2 separate regions of the Homo sapiens genome follow, and region 2 is linked to region 1. The links are contacts of gene promoters, found by promoter capture Hi-C in blood cells and fetal thymus (Javierre and others, 2016). All regions are on one chromosome and are shown on one strand. The core of a region is centred on a gene start or on the middle of the fragment in contact, and the rest is flanking DNA. Distances in the headings are between cores, read along the strand shown. Region 1 holds the start of DCAF7 (DDB1 and CUL4 associated factor 7). Region 2 overlaps TANC2 (tetratricopeptide repeat, ankyrin repeat and coiled-coil containing 2).

What was found. The method cuts DNA at HindIII sites, captures the fragments that hold promoters and counts their contacts. A CHiCAGO score of 5 or more calls a contact.
Region 2: a fragment that was not itself captured here is called in contact with the fragment with the promoter of DCAF7 in region 1 in 1 of 17 cell types (activated CD4 T cells); the score reaches 5.7 in activated CD4 T cells.

The regions. Positions count from the first base shown.
Region 1 is chr17:63,546,160-63,551,910 of GRCh38, reverse strand. It overlaps DCAF7 (DDB1 and CUL4 associated factor 7), which reads right to left and starts at 1,434. Exons shown (of 7, transcript NM_005828.5): 1 at 1,096-1,434. The coding sequence starts at 1,233. It overlaps KCNH6 (potassium voltage-gated channel subfamily H member 6), which reads right to left. Exons shown (of 13, transcript NM_001278919.2): 13 at 5,184-5,751. RefSeq lists silencers at 941-1,090, 1,111-1,160 and enhancers at 1,311-1,390, 1,831-2,220, 1,520-2,504. The HindIII fragment of the contact is 8,271 bases long and covers 627-5,751 here.
Region 2 is chr17:63,415,104-63,420,878 of GRCh38, reverse strand. It overlaps TANC2 (tetratricopeptide repeat, ankyrin repeat and coiled-coil containing 2), which reads right to left. Exons shown (of 28, transcript NM_001394998.1): 26 at 5,205-5,351; 27 at 2,472-2,572; 28 at 1-880. Among named protein-coding and RNA genes, the nearest start is that of CYB561, 28 kb to the left of the region's middle. The HindIII fragment of the contact is 3,917 bases long and covers 2,511-5,775 here.

The DNA.
Region 1 (5,751 bases), core at 185-2,684:
TTTTTTTTTTTTTTTTTTTGTATTTTAGTAGAGACGGGGTTTCACCGTGTTACCCAGGCTGGTCGCGAACTCCTGAGCTCAGGTAATCCGCCCGCCTCGGCCTCCCAAAGTCCTGGGATTACAGGCGTGAGCCACCGCGCCCGGCCAGTTTTACTCTTCTTAAATCTGATGTTCATGGCATAAAGCAGGAGTAGTGGCTTTAAATATCACTAGCCACAGCTTTCAGTTGCTCTGATCGCTATCATTCACAACTTTGAGTAAAAGGAAGAAAGAAAATTCTTCCAACTGACTTATTCAACTTTCAAAAATGAGTTTGTTGCAATGCCAGTTTAAAAGCTCCCCTACTACACCGTGCTTCTATAAAGGATTCTCAAATTGATGTATGTCCAGCAAGACTTACTACTAAAGGTCACACAACTGTACTAGCACGAAACAAGCCAAGAGATAAGGCCCTGTCATCCTTCTGTGTTCAGGAAACAACGGCGGGATCATGCCACAGGCCAAGATTTCCAAAGAGATTGCTTTAGAGAGAATGGATATCAGGAAGCAAGAGCAACAGTAATTCTGGCAGAAGGGCTAGGATCCATGAGTACCCGGGGGGGGTGGGAGTAGGGGGCGGGGAAGCTTGTACAATAGATCGTCTTAATAGAAATCTAGTGTGGCCAGGAGTGCACGACCACCAATAGAAGCGCCTGCATTTTCCTTCACAGCTATCACTCTCTCTTCCCTTCCCCGCCCACCAACGAAAGCAATGCGGCAGGAGTGGAGAGCACGGGATGAATAAATGGAGTATCTTTGGGGCGTAAACCCGGTTTTAAGACCTGTTTCCACCCCGAAATAGCTGCCTGACCCAGGCAAGTCACAAAACCGTGCCTCAGTTTCCCCACTACACTGCCGACTACACAAGAATGCTGCCTGGATTAAAGGAGACAGACAACGAGTACGAAACCTTCAGCACAGGGCCAGACAGAGGAACCGCTCCGTGGCCCTAGGGCGAGTCCGCAAGAGGGTTCTGAGGCCTGGGCTCCGGCCCGGAAAGGGCGCTCCCGGGGCCCGCTCCCCGCCAGCTGGGTTCCGAGCCCCTGCCCGGCCCACCTTGTTGTTGTACTCCTCCACGAAGCTGCCCAGCGCCAAGCGAAAGCGCTTATCGGGCCGCACACTCCAGTTCATCGCGTAGACTGTCCAGGGCGCTTCATACTTGTAGATCTCCTTCCGTTTGCCGTGCAGGGACATGGTGGCCACGGGGCCGCAGTACGGGCCGGGTCAACAGTGGGCTGCGGCGGGCGGGGAGCCGAGCCTGAGATCTATGGGTCCGAAGGGAGGAGAGGAGGGGGCGGGCAGGAACGGCCTAACCCGGAAGCGGGGATGCGGCGACAAACAACGACGACGGCCGAGCCCGACCCCTAGTTTCAAACCAGCTTGGGAACGGACGACAACCACCTTCCGTTTTGGGACGCCGCCCCGCCCTCTCGGAACGGAAGCCGCCGGACCCCCGCAGCGGCACCGGCCGTTGGTTGCCTGACACGTCCTTTCGAAAGGATTCTTTCTTGTCATTGGTTATTGCGGCCGTAGCGTCTGAAATCTCCTCGCTATTGGGTTAAATGTTTGTCATTGCAACTACTCGCCCCGCCCAACTCTCGGAGGCAGGCGCTTTGGCAGCCCCAAAGGTCATTGGTTGGCCAAGATGTCAGTCAGGCAGATAACGGCTCAGTGCGGGTGGTGGGGGCGTGGGTGGCCTGGAGGCGAGCGTGCTGTAGCAGCGGGCCTCCAAGTTCTAGGCCAAGTCTCTGAGAGTGAAACCGTCTGTGACCTGCGCTGACTTCCCCTCCGCTGCTGCTGTTCTGAGCGGCCTCTCCACGCTGTCGAGTAAAAGTACAATTCTGCCTTAGTGGAAGACCTACTGACTTTCGCGGGACAGAGCCCTGCGGCCTGGCAGCCTGGCCTGCGCCCAACGGGTACCACCTTCCCGCCCCATCTCTTCCCAGGGCCCTTTTAACCCGAAAGCTGCTCTCTCCGTGCCTCAGGGACAGGCTTCGGGCGCGCAGATGCGCTCAGGGCCAGGCCAGCTTGAGTCAGGCCCTCCCGCGCTTTCCTGCAGGATCTAGAAATGTCCCCGAATTCTGGGGTAGGCACCGACCCGACCAGCTTGGCTCTGTTTTTGTCAGTTCCCATCCTGTACCCTTCCCGCCGTGGATCCCAACGCAAATGCTAATCCAGCCCCAAAGGTATCTGTGCCTGTGAGTTGGAAAAGGGGAAGGGCCAGAGACCAAATGACACCTTTATATAAATTATTTCCAATTCTCAGCTTTCATCAAAATTGAAGGAGGTTTGTATTGAATTGTTGGATGATAACATTAAATACTTTTTTTTTTTTTTTTTAAAGACAGGGTCTTGCCCTGTCACCCAGGCTGGAGTGCACTGGTGTGATAAGGGCTCACTGTAGCCTGGACTGCCTAGGTTCAAACGATTCCCCCACTTTAGCCTCTGGAGTAGCTGGAACCACAGACATTTGCCACCACACCTAGCTATTTTTAAATTATTATTTGTAGAGATGAGATCTCTCCATGTTGCCCAGGCTGATCTCGAACTCCTGGGCTCAAGCGATCCTCCCACATCAGCATCCTAAAGTACTGGGATTACAGGCTTGAGCCACCATTCTGGGCACTAAATATAATTTTTAATGATAAATGATTTTTCCACCTCCCAGGTTCAAGTGATTCTCCTGCTTCAGCCTCCCGAGTAGCTGAGATTACAGGGGTGCACCACCACAGCCAGCTAATTTTTGTATTTTTAGTAGAGATGGGGTTTCACCATGTTGGCCATTCTGGTGTCGAACTCCTGACCTCAAATGATCTTCCAGCCTCGGCCTCCCAAAGTGTTGGGATTACAGGCGTGAGCCACCGCATCTGGCCAAGAAATCCTCTTTTTTTTTTAATTTTATTTTATTTTTGAGATGGAGTCTCACTCTGTCGCCCGGGCTGTAGTGCAGTGGCACTATCTCGGCTCACTGCAACCTCTGCCTTTAGGGTTCAAGTGATTCTCTTGCTTCAGCCTCCTGAGTAGCTGGGATTACAGGCGCCCGCCACCATGCCCAGCTAAAGGAAATCCCCTGTAAGGAGGAAAGTTTAAAAACAAATTTAAAAAGGAAAGAAAAAGACGTACAAAATTCGCGGTACCTTGTCTTATTCTAATAAAAAATAATGATATTTATCCACAGATATAGGAACTAACGGGGGGAGGAAATTTTCTCTTTTATGACGTATATTTCCAATAAAATTTTAGTTTTTATTAGAAAATTGAATATATATTTATGTTGTTTTGAACAACTGTACTACTAATAGATGTAACCCTTAAAGCCTTATTAAGGTTACAAAAATTAATTTTAAAATGTCAATTAATTTATACACATTCGTTTTGAGGCAGGGTCTTGCTCTGTTATCCAGGTGGTGGTGCAGTGGGGCAAACAGTGCTTATTGCAGCCTTGACCTCCCGGGCTCAAGCAATCCTCCTGCCTCCTTTATTTTTTGTAGAGACAAGATCTTGCTATGTTGCCCAGGCTGGGTTCAACTGGTCCTCCCACCTCAGCCTCCCAAAATGCTGGGATTATAGGCATGAGCCACCCCATGACCGACCTACTTTTTTTTTGAAACGGAGTCTTGCTCTGTTGCCCACGCTGGAGTGCAGTGGCACGATCTTGGCTCACTACAAGCTCCACCTCCTGGGTTCACGCCATTCTCCTGCCTCAGCCTCCCGAGTAGCTGGGACTACAGGCACCTGCCACCACGCCTGGCTATTTTTTTTGTATTTTTAGTAGAGATGGGGTTTCACCCTGTTAGCCAGGATGGTCTTGATCTCCTGACCTCGTGATCTGCCCACCTCAGCCTCCCAAAGTGCTGGGATTACAGGTGTGAGCCACTGCGCCCAGCCACTTTTTTTTTTTTTTTTAAGAGACCGAGTCTTGCTCTGTTACCCGGGCTGGAGTACAGTTGCATGAACATGGCTTACTGCAGTCTTGACCTCTTAGGTTCAAGTGACTCTCCCACCCAAGCCTCCCAGCAAGCCCTGTAGTACCTGGGACTACAGGTGCGCATCACAATGCTTGGCTAATTAAAAAAAAATTGTTTTGTAGAGACCAGGTTGAGCTATGCTGCCCAGGCTGGTCTTGAATTCCTGGCTCAAGCAATCTTCCAGCCTCAGCCTCCCAAAGTGTTGGGATTACAGGCATGAGTGAGCCACTGCACCCAGCCTGTATACATATTTGTGTTGCAAACATATGATAGGGTGATCAATATTAGGCTTTGAAGCATACCAATAAATTACATGTAGGATAAAACTATGGGAGGAATAAGTGGGAATTATGAGAAAAGAAAAAAGAACGATGTTAAAGAAGGGTTTCTTGTGTTTTTAAAATAGATGGTGGTGGCTCTCAAATCGCTGCTATTTGGGTAGAAATGGGTCAATACAAATGCCCCGTGTTGGGCACGGGGATGATTTTTAAAATTTTCATTTTGAGACAGGGTCTTATTCCCTTGCCCAGGGTGTGAGTTCAGTGATGCAATCACGGCTTACTGTAACCTTGGACTCCTGGCCTCAAGCAGTCCTCCTGCCTCATCCTCCTCCCAAAGCCCTGGGATTACAGGCATGAGCCACTACACCTGGCCTCTTTTTTTATTTTTATTTTCTTTTTAACTGAGGTATAATTTACACACAGAAGCACACTCTTTCGCAACCTGAACACCTGTAACCAGCACCTAGATCAGGAAACAGAACAGTACCTGCACCTCAGAAATCCCCCTCATGTTTGGGTGTCTTAGTCTCTCTGCTACTGATCCCACATCTGTAAAATGGGGATAATAATACCAACCCGTTGGGGTTGTTTTGAGGATTAGATGAACAAGTATCTGCAGAGCTGTCAGCACAGTGCCTGGTACGGGGCGAGTGCTACCGAAGTGTTGGCTGTTGTCATGATCCCCTAGGGCCACCAAGCCAGTGCCTCTGCTTCCCTTCACCTCGGCCTAACAGCCCCAGGCTCCAGGAGCCTCTGGGCCCAGCAGAACCACCTTCAGGTCCCCAACACACTGGATATGGTGGAGGGTAAGTCTGCAGCTCCTTACAAGAAGGGTTTGGAGAAAGCCACAGCACAGTCAAAGACGTAATGACCTTCAGATAAGTTACACACCCAGTCCAACATGAAATGTGTACTTTATTAGCTGTGTGACACTCCACTGCCCTCAAGAGACCCAATGTCACAGAACCATCAGGAGCAGAGGGCTGGAGGACTGTCCTGACATGTCTGCCACAGAACATACCTCCATCTCCAGCCAGGTCAGAGGCTCATGGTAAGAGTTCTGACCAACCCCGGGCCTTGGTGCTGAGCCATGAGGTGCTGGAGGGTTCTGAGCTGGGAGGCTCAGAGCAAGGTACTCATGTAGATCAGAAACCTCTTTCTTCACTGCCCCCTCAATCCTGTAAGCTGCCTCCACACCTGAGACTCTCCCACCCTGCACCAGGCTTGCTGTTTAAATGGAGCCCTGGAGGAGGCTGGGAAAAGTCGTGAGCTTCTTCACCCACGCCATCCTGGGTCACCTGGATCAGCAGTTTGTAGCTACTTTAGGAGAGGCCCATCTGGGGGGCTGTCTGCCTCCCCAAGATCTTTTTTTTTTTTTTTTTTGAGTTGGAGTCTCACTCTGTCACCCAGGCTGGAGTGCAGTGGTGCGGCCTCGGCTCCCTGCAACCTCCACCTCCCGGGTT
Region 2 (5,775 bases), core at 3,220-5,719, 130 kb after region 1:
GGCTCCTGTGGGGATGACGGTGCTTGAATGGACGGCTGGGCTGGGCTGGTTACTTCTCACAATCTGGGCCTTGGCAGGCTGTAGCCTGAGCCCTTGCTGGGGAACTGCCACAGGGAGCTGAGGCATCTGGTAGGGCCGCTGGGCCATTTTGGATAATGGAGATTTGGGTCTGCCAGGAAGCTGACTGACGCTTGTTTCCTGCTGATAGCGCACGGGTGAACCAGACTGGGATCTATAGACACTCATACTTTCAGCTGGAGGGCTGGCCCGATACTGAGGGCCTCTCCGGAGAGGGGAAGGGGGAGGGCTTGGGTATTCTTTGCCCTGTCCTCCCACAGGAGGGGGGCTGAAACGGTAAGATCCTCCCTGATGAGCCGGGGAAGTGTGTGGTGGGCTAGGCCTGTAATGTGAGTTCTGATGAGTTGGAGAAAGGGCAGGTGAGGTGGACTGATAGGTCTGTCTAGTGGGAGAGCCTACAGAACTACTGGACCGGAAGTCAAAAACCTGATGAGAGCCAAGAGGTGAGCTGGAGATGTAGGCTGAGTCCCGATGCGGGGGAGAGGAGGGTGGGCTCTGGATGACCGGGAGCCCCTGGCTGGGCCGGGCCTCTGTCTGGAGGCCAATGGAAACATTTTCAACATCCTGTTCCAGGTACTCCTCCTCGAATATATCCTGTACAGAGTATATGTCTTCATGCTGTGGCTCAGGTTCTGCTTCTTCCGGCAACTGCTGCTGAGGCTGCGGTGGCGGCGGTGGCTGCTGTGGCTGCTGCATCTGTCTACACTCTTCTTCCACTCTCAGCAGAAGTCTCTGGATCTCACGGTTGTTGGGACACAGCTTGATGGCCTCGTTCAGGTCCTCTAAGGCTGCTGCGAACTGTCTGCTTGACAAAATGTGAACACAGGAACTGGAGTTATTCTGAATCCAGAGAAATCACCAAGAGCTGAGAACATGGTCACTATCTCAGAGAGCTGTGGTGGCGTCTGTGGGAGTCTGGGGTATTTCGGTTTAGTTGGATTTATAGGGAAGGAAACAGGAAGACTCATTCTGGAAGAGTCCGAATGATTCCCTAACCCATTCGGCCTCCATCTTCCTTCTGGCCTCTCTGGGAATAGTGGAGAAATGCCCCATTTTGTCAGTCCAGCCAGGCCCTTCGGGAAGTTGTTTTGGTGCCCAAACACACACCAGGCAGTATGAGAGTTGGGTGGGGTTGTCATTTACAGGGTCACTGTCAAGTAGCTTAGGAACAAAAAAAACTACATATTTAAAAATCTTGCTGATCCAGCAGAAATTTTTCTTTATATTCTCAATATTTTAGCTCCAAATTTCAGGCCTGTTCTACTCTAGGCAAGAACCCTGTCCTCTGCCCTTTCTAACCCTCATCTCTCAGAATTGCTGTGTCTCCATTTGCTCTATCAAAGTGGGGCAGGCATTAGGCTTGCTGACTAGGTCACTCGGGGCTGGAGCTGAGCTGACTCCAAGGAGACTCTAATTTACAAATGAAGAAATGAACTGTCAGAGACATTCCCATCTTCTCTACTAATATCACCTGACAGGGGCAACTGACCTTGTGAAAAAGGAACTACCCAGAGGGAAGGAGAATTTCAGTCAGATTTCTGTGAGGACTTCGTTGCCCCAGCTAGGTAAGAGTGCGATCACTGCCACCACCATCACTAGCCTCAAGCTGGGTGTGATTTTCGGGACCATGTGCCCCTGGCCATAGCAGTGAACCTGAAGCAGTTCTTTCCCATGCAGCTGGGGAGGAGGAGGGCAGGAGGCATAAGAGACAGTGACAAGTTACACAAAGATCACTGATGGCAGGTTCTAGGTTATTCTGGGAGCTTTTCTGCCCAGTGGCCAAACTAAAGCAGATGGGCACAAGGAATGTGGAATGGTGTTCTCTTAGAGGGTCCTCTCCATCCTGGCAGCAAGGACCTCTTGACTCTGTGTGTGTGTGGTGGGTGATGGTTTAGGTGGAAGGGGGTCTGATGCCACCAGACTTGAGGAGAGCCCCAGAGGGAAGACTAACTAATCCGGGATTCCTCAAACGCCTATGGGAGAAGGAAGAGGAACCTGTGATGTTAAGTGAACCATCCTACTTTCCCTCTAAAGCGGGGGTGGGGTGCTCTGCTTAAGTGATTTCTTTAAGTCGCCGTTGTCTCTTTGTGCTAGCTGCTCTGGGGGTTGAAAAATGCCTGAGATACGGCAGAGGCTTCTTGGAAGAAGCTGCCATTCTCCAGTGAAAAAGTGTTTTTCTCCCGAAGTGAAACATTCGTGGCCTCCACAGCCCAGCAGATTTGCTGATCTTGAGCTGAGGGCTGTGCTATGGGAGCCATCCCCAAAGCTTGGCCCTGACAGTTCTCAAGGACAGAGATGTATTTGGGTACATATGCCCCAGGGTGGCCGACGCTGCCTTGGCCAAATTTTCAGAAAAGAGACCTCTTGCTTTCACCCTCTCTCTCTCTCCTCACCTGCTGCTGCGTTTTGCCCTTGCTCTCGCATAGTAAGCTTCATAAGATTTCGGTTTCAGCTCCAGGGCCTTAGTAGCAAATTCCTCCGCCATTCCAAAATCCTGTCATTACAATAGGTGTGCAAATGAGTCATTGATGAGATATAAAAAATAGACAACTTGGGAATAAAACAAATTATTTGTACATTTTTTGACATTCATGGATGGAACGCCTGGGACGCTAGACGTGCCTGACATGGCTCAAGCCGCGTGGCCTGTGGACTGAAAGTTCCTTCTGCCTTTGTCCTGTGTAGCGCTGCGACTGCTCACTGGACTTTATCTGCCCAGAATATTAAAATAGTTTTAATTTTCCCTCTTTTTGCCTTTCTAATAAAGTTCTCAGCCCGGAAGCCAAACACCAACCCTTTCCAGTGAAGCTCCTGAAGTTATCCATGCATGTAGGAGGCAAACGCACACATGTCCACATTTCACGTGGACCCTGGTCTGAGCCCCACACCTTCCTGCTACATGCACTACACTGTGGCTTTCTAAGGGACAGGTGAGAAGGTGTCCTGTAAAGTCCGGGAGGATGACGTCTGTAAAGGAAACTGCACTGACTACAGAGACTAGAGGGAGAGGGGGTGTCAGACAGACCTGGGTTCAATTCTCTGACCAGCTTCATAACCCCCAAGTGTATAGTGTATTTTCTCATCCATACCTACCCCGGGGGTAGGATCAAGTGTGATACAGTATTTAAAAGCCCTGCACAGTTCCCGGCACATAGTAGGTGCTCATTAATTATCGTTTTCTTTCTATTTCACAGAGGCTTCTCTGATCTGTTCCTTTTTTTAACTGGTTCCTTACTTAGGAAACACTTAAAATTAAAAATAAAACAAAACAAGAGAAGACCCCAGCTGTGACTGAGGTCTGTGCTCTCCCTAGAGGAACACGCTCACAGGCATGTCATTCCTGAGAACCCCTGGAAACAGAGACTGGGGGGTGGGGTGGGGAACAACGCCGACTAGGCAGCCTATGGTTTTCAGTATTCCCTTAAATACTAAGCTAAAAGAGAAGGCTTTCCCCTTCTTTTAGTGTCAAAGCCACAGTATAGCATGGTAGCCTCTGGTTATGGTCATGAGTCCTAAGGCAGAAAACAAGGCCTTGGGCAGAACAAAGGCCCTGGGGCATAGGTAAAAAAATTTTTTAAAAGTTGATGGGAAATCCTCTACCTAAGAAGACAGACGTCTGGTGTTTGGCACAGTATTGGCCCAGGAGGTGATTAACAACCGCTTCTGAACAAATGTGGAGCTAGAAAGAATTTCAGCTTTTATGGGTCACCCTCTCCCTGCTCTGCTTCCAGCCTTACCCTTTTATTTGTTCTTTTGGGACCATCATTATTCCTAAAAATATGAGGGCATTTTTAAAAAGTCTATTATTTGGTAGGGAAAAGAGATCAGTGGGTTGGCAGCAACTTCTGAGCTTTGCCTCATCCTCATCGGCTGGTGCAGGGGAGGCCTTGGTGCTGTTCCTTTCATTTCACAGGAGACCCCAAGAGCATGAAAATCTGTCTCCCGAGACCGCCACCTTCTCCCTTCCCGGGGTTGGGGGGCCTCTTCCACATCCCCACTTCCCTCAGCACCCTGGAGCAACTCTGCCTCTGAGGGCCATGGCCGTGTTCTCTGAGACAGTCAGGTTTAACTCTGCCTCTGAAGGTCATGGCTGTGTTCTCTGAGATAGGTTTAACTCTGCCTCTGAAGGTCATGGCTGTGTTCTCTGAGACAGTCAGGTTTAACTCTGCCTCTGAAGGTCATGGCTATGTTCTCTGAGACAGTCAGGTTTAACTCAGGTTCCTTCCAGTGTCAGGGTTTAGGGTCTGGAATGGATGATCTAAAGGTTACACACACAAATCTTTCTGGAAGATCCCTGGCCATGAGGTTCAAATCTTGCTTCTGTCCAGCTGAGTTTTTAATTGATCAATACATCTGTTTGGCTTGGATTATTTTTATCTCCTGAGGAACTGTGAGACCTCAGGCAGGTAGATGTCAGAGACTCCTGACACAATCTTAGCTATTTCCAAAACCTGAGAGAGGGTTCTTGGCTTGGAGTGTCTTCACGTTAAAGGGCAGTGGCTGAGGGAGCAGTGTCTGGGGACATGTGAGATGGGTCTGCAAGGTAGGCAGGAAGGACCGTGGCTTACCAGGGAGACGATAAAGGTCCAGGGGGAGTTCTGAGATTCCCCCTAGGACAAGAAGGGACATAGCATGCTGGGATACAAAGATGAGGAAAGAGGCGAAAAGTTCGATAGCCTCAGAAATTAAACCTTCAAGACCATGGTCCAAGCCCTCTCCTTAGCCCTTCTTCAAATGATAAGGGAATATACCTGAGAGTAATGACTACAATTCACATCTAATTGCAACTGGAATTCTAGTGACCACTGCTCTCACATTTTCCCAAAGACCAGAACACTGACTTGGTGGTATGGGGGTGGGAAAGATGGTATTCTCATCACTTTCAGTTAAATTATGAACATTCAGAAAGCTGCAAAGTACTCGCAGCATTAATTTCTGTACAGTTTGAGATACAGATTGTACTTAGACTTGATTTCTTTCAAATTGCAAATGTCAGTGCTCTGTGAAGGACAACCAAGTTCCAAATGGGGCAGAGGAGGATTTCAGGGGCCTGGTAAAAGCTAGTGAGTGACACAGGCTATCAGCTACCAGGATTGCAGAAAGGAGTTGGGGTGACAGGGACTTACGTTCATTTTCCTGCGACACCGAGAGAGGTTGAGGAGGAGAGACACCTTTAGTTCCCGGAAAGTTTTCAAGTCCTCACCAAACCCTTCTCTAGGGAACTTCTTCAGGGCGTACTGGTAGCGCTGGGCAGCTTCCTTTACTTTACCTTTCTAATGGGAGCACAAGATGGCGAAACACACAGTTGGTCTGCTGAACAGCTGAGGAAGTGTGGTCCCCACTCCCTTCTTCTTCTCAGCAGCTGTTACTAAGGGCTAACCCTCCCAAACGCCAGCCTAGAGAGGAGTTCTGGCCCTGATGGTGAGGGCAGAAGGGTCTAGTCTTTTCTATAGGAAACTCACCTGGCAGGAAAGGCAAGGTTGAGGGGATACCCAAGATACAAGCCAGGGAGGCAAAGCCTTGGCAAATGGAAGGCCCTGGACCCTGACTTCCCAACTGGATTCCAAAGAGGCTGACCATGCTCATTTCAAAGTTCCTTTGCTCTCTATAACACATATGACTTCCTAACCCCAAGCACTCCAAAGTTATTACTTCCTCCTTAATTTCTGGCTTGTCTGGAGAACTGTTTTTTTGGTC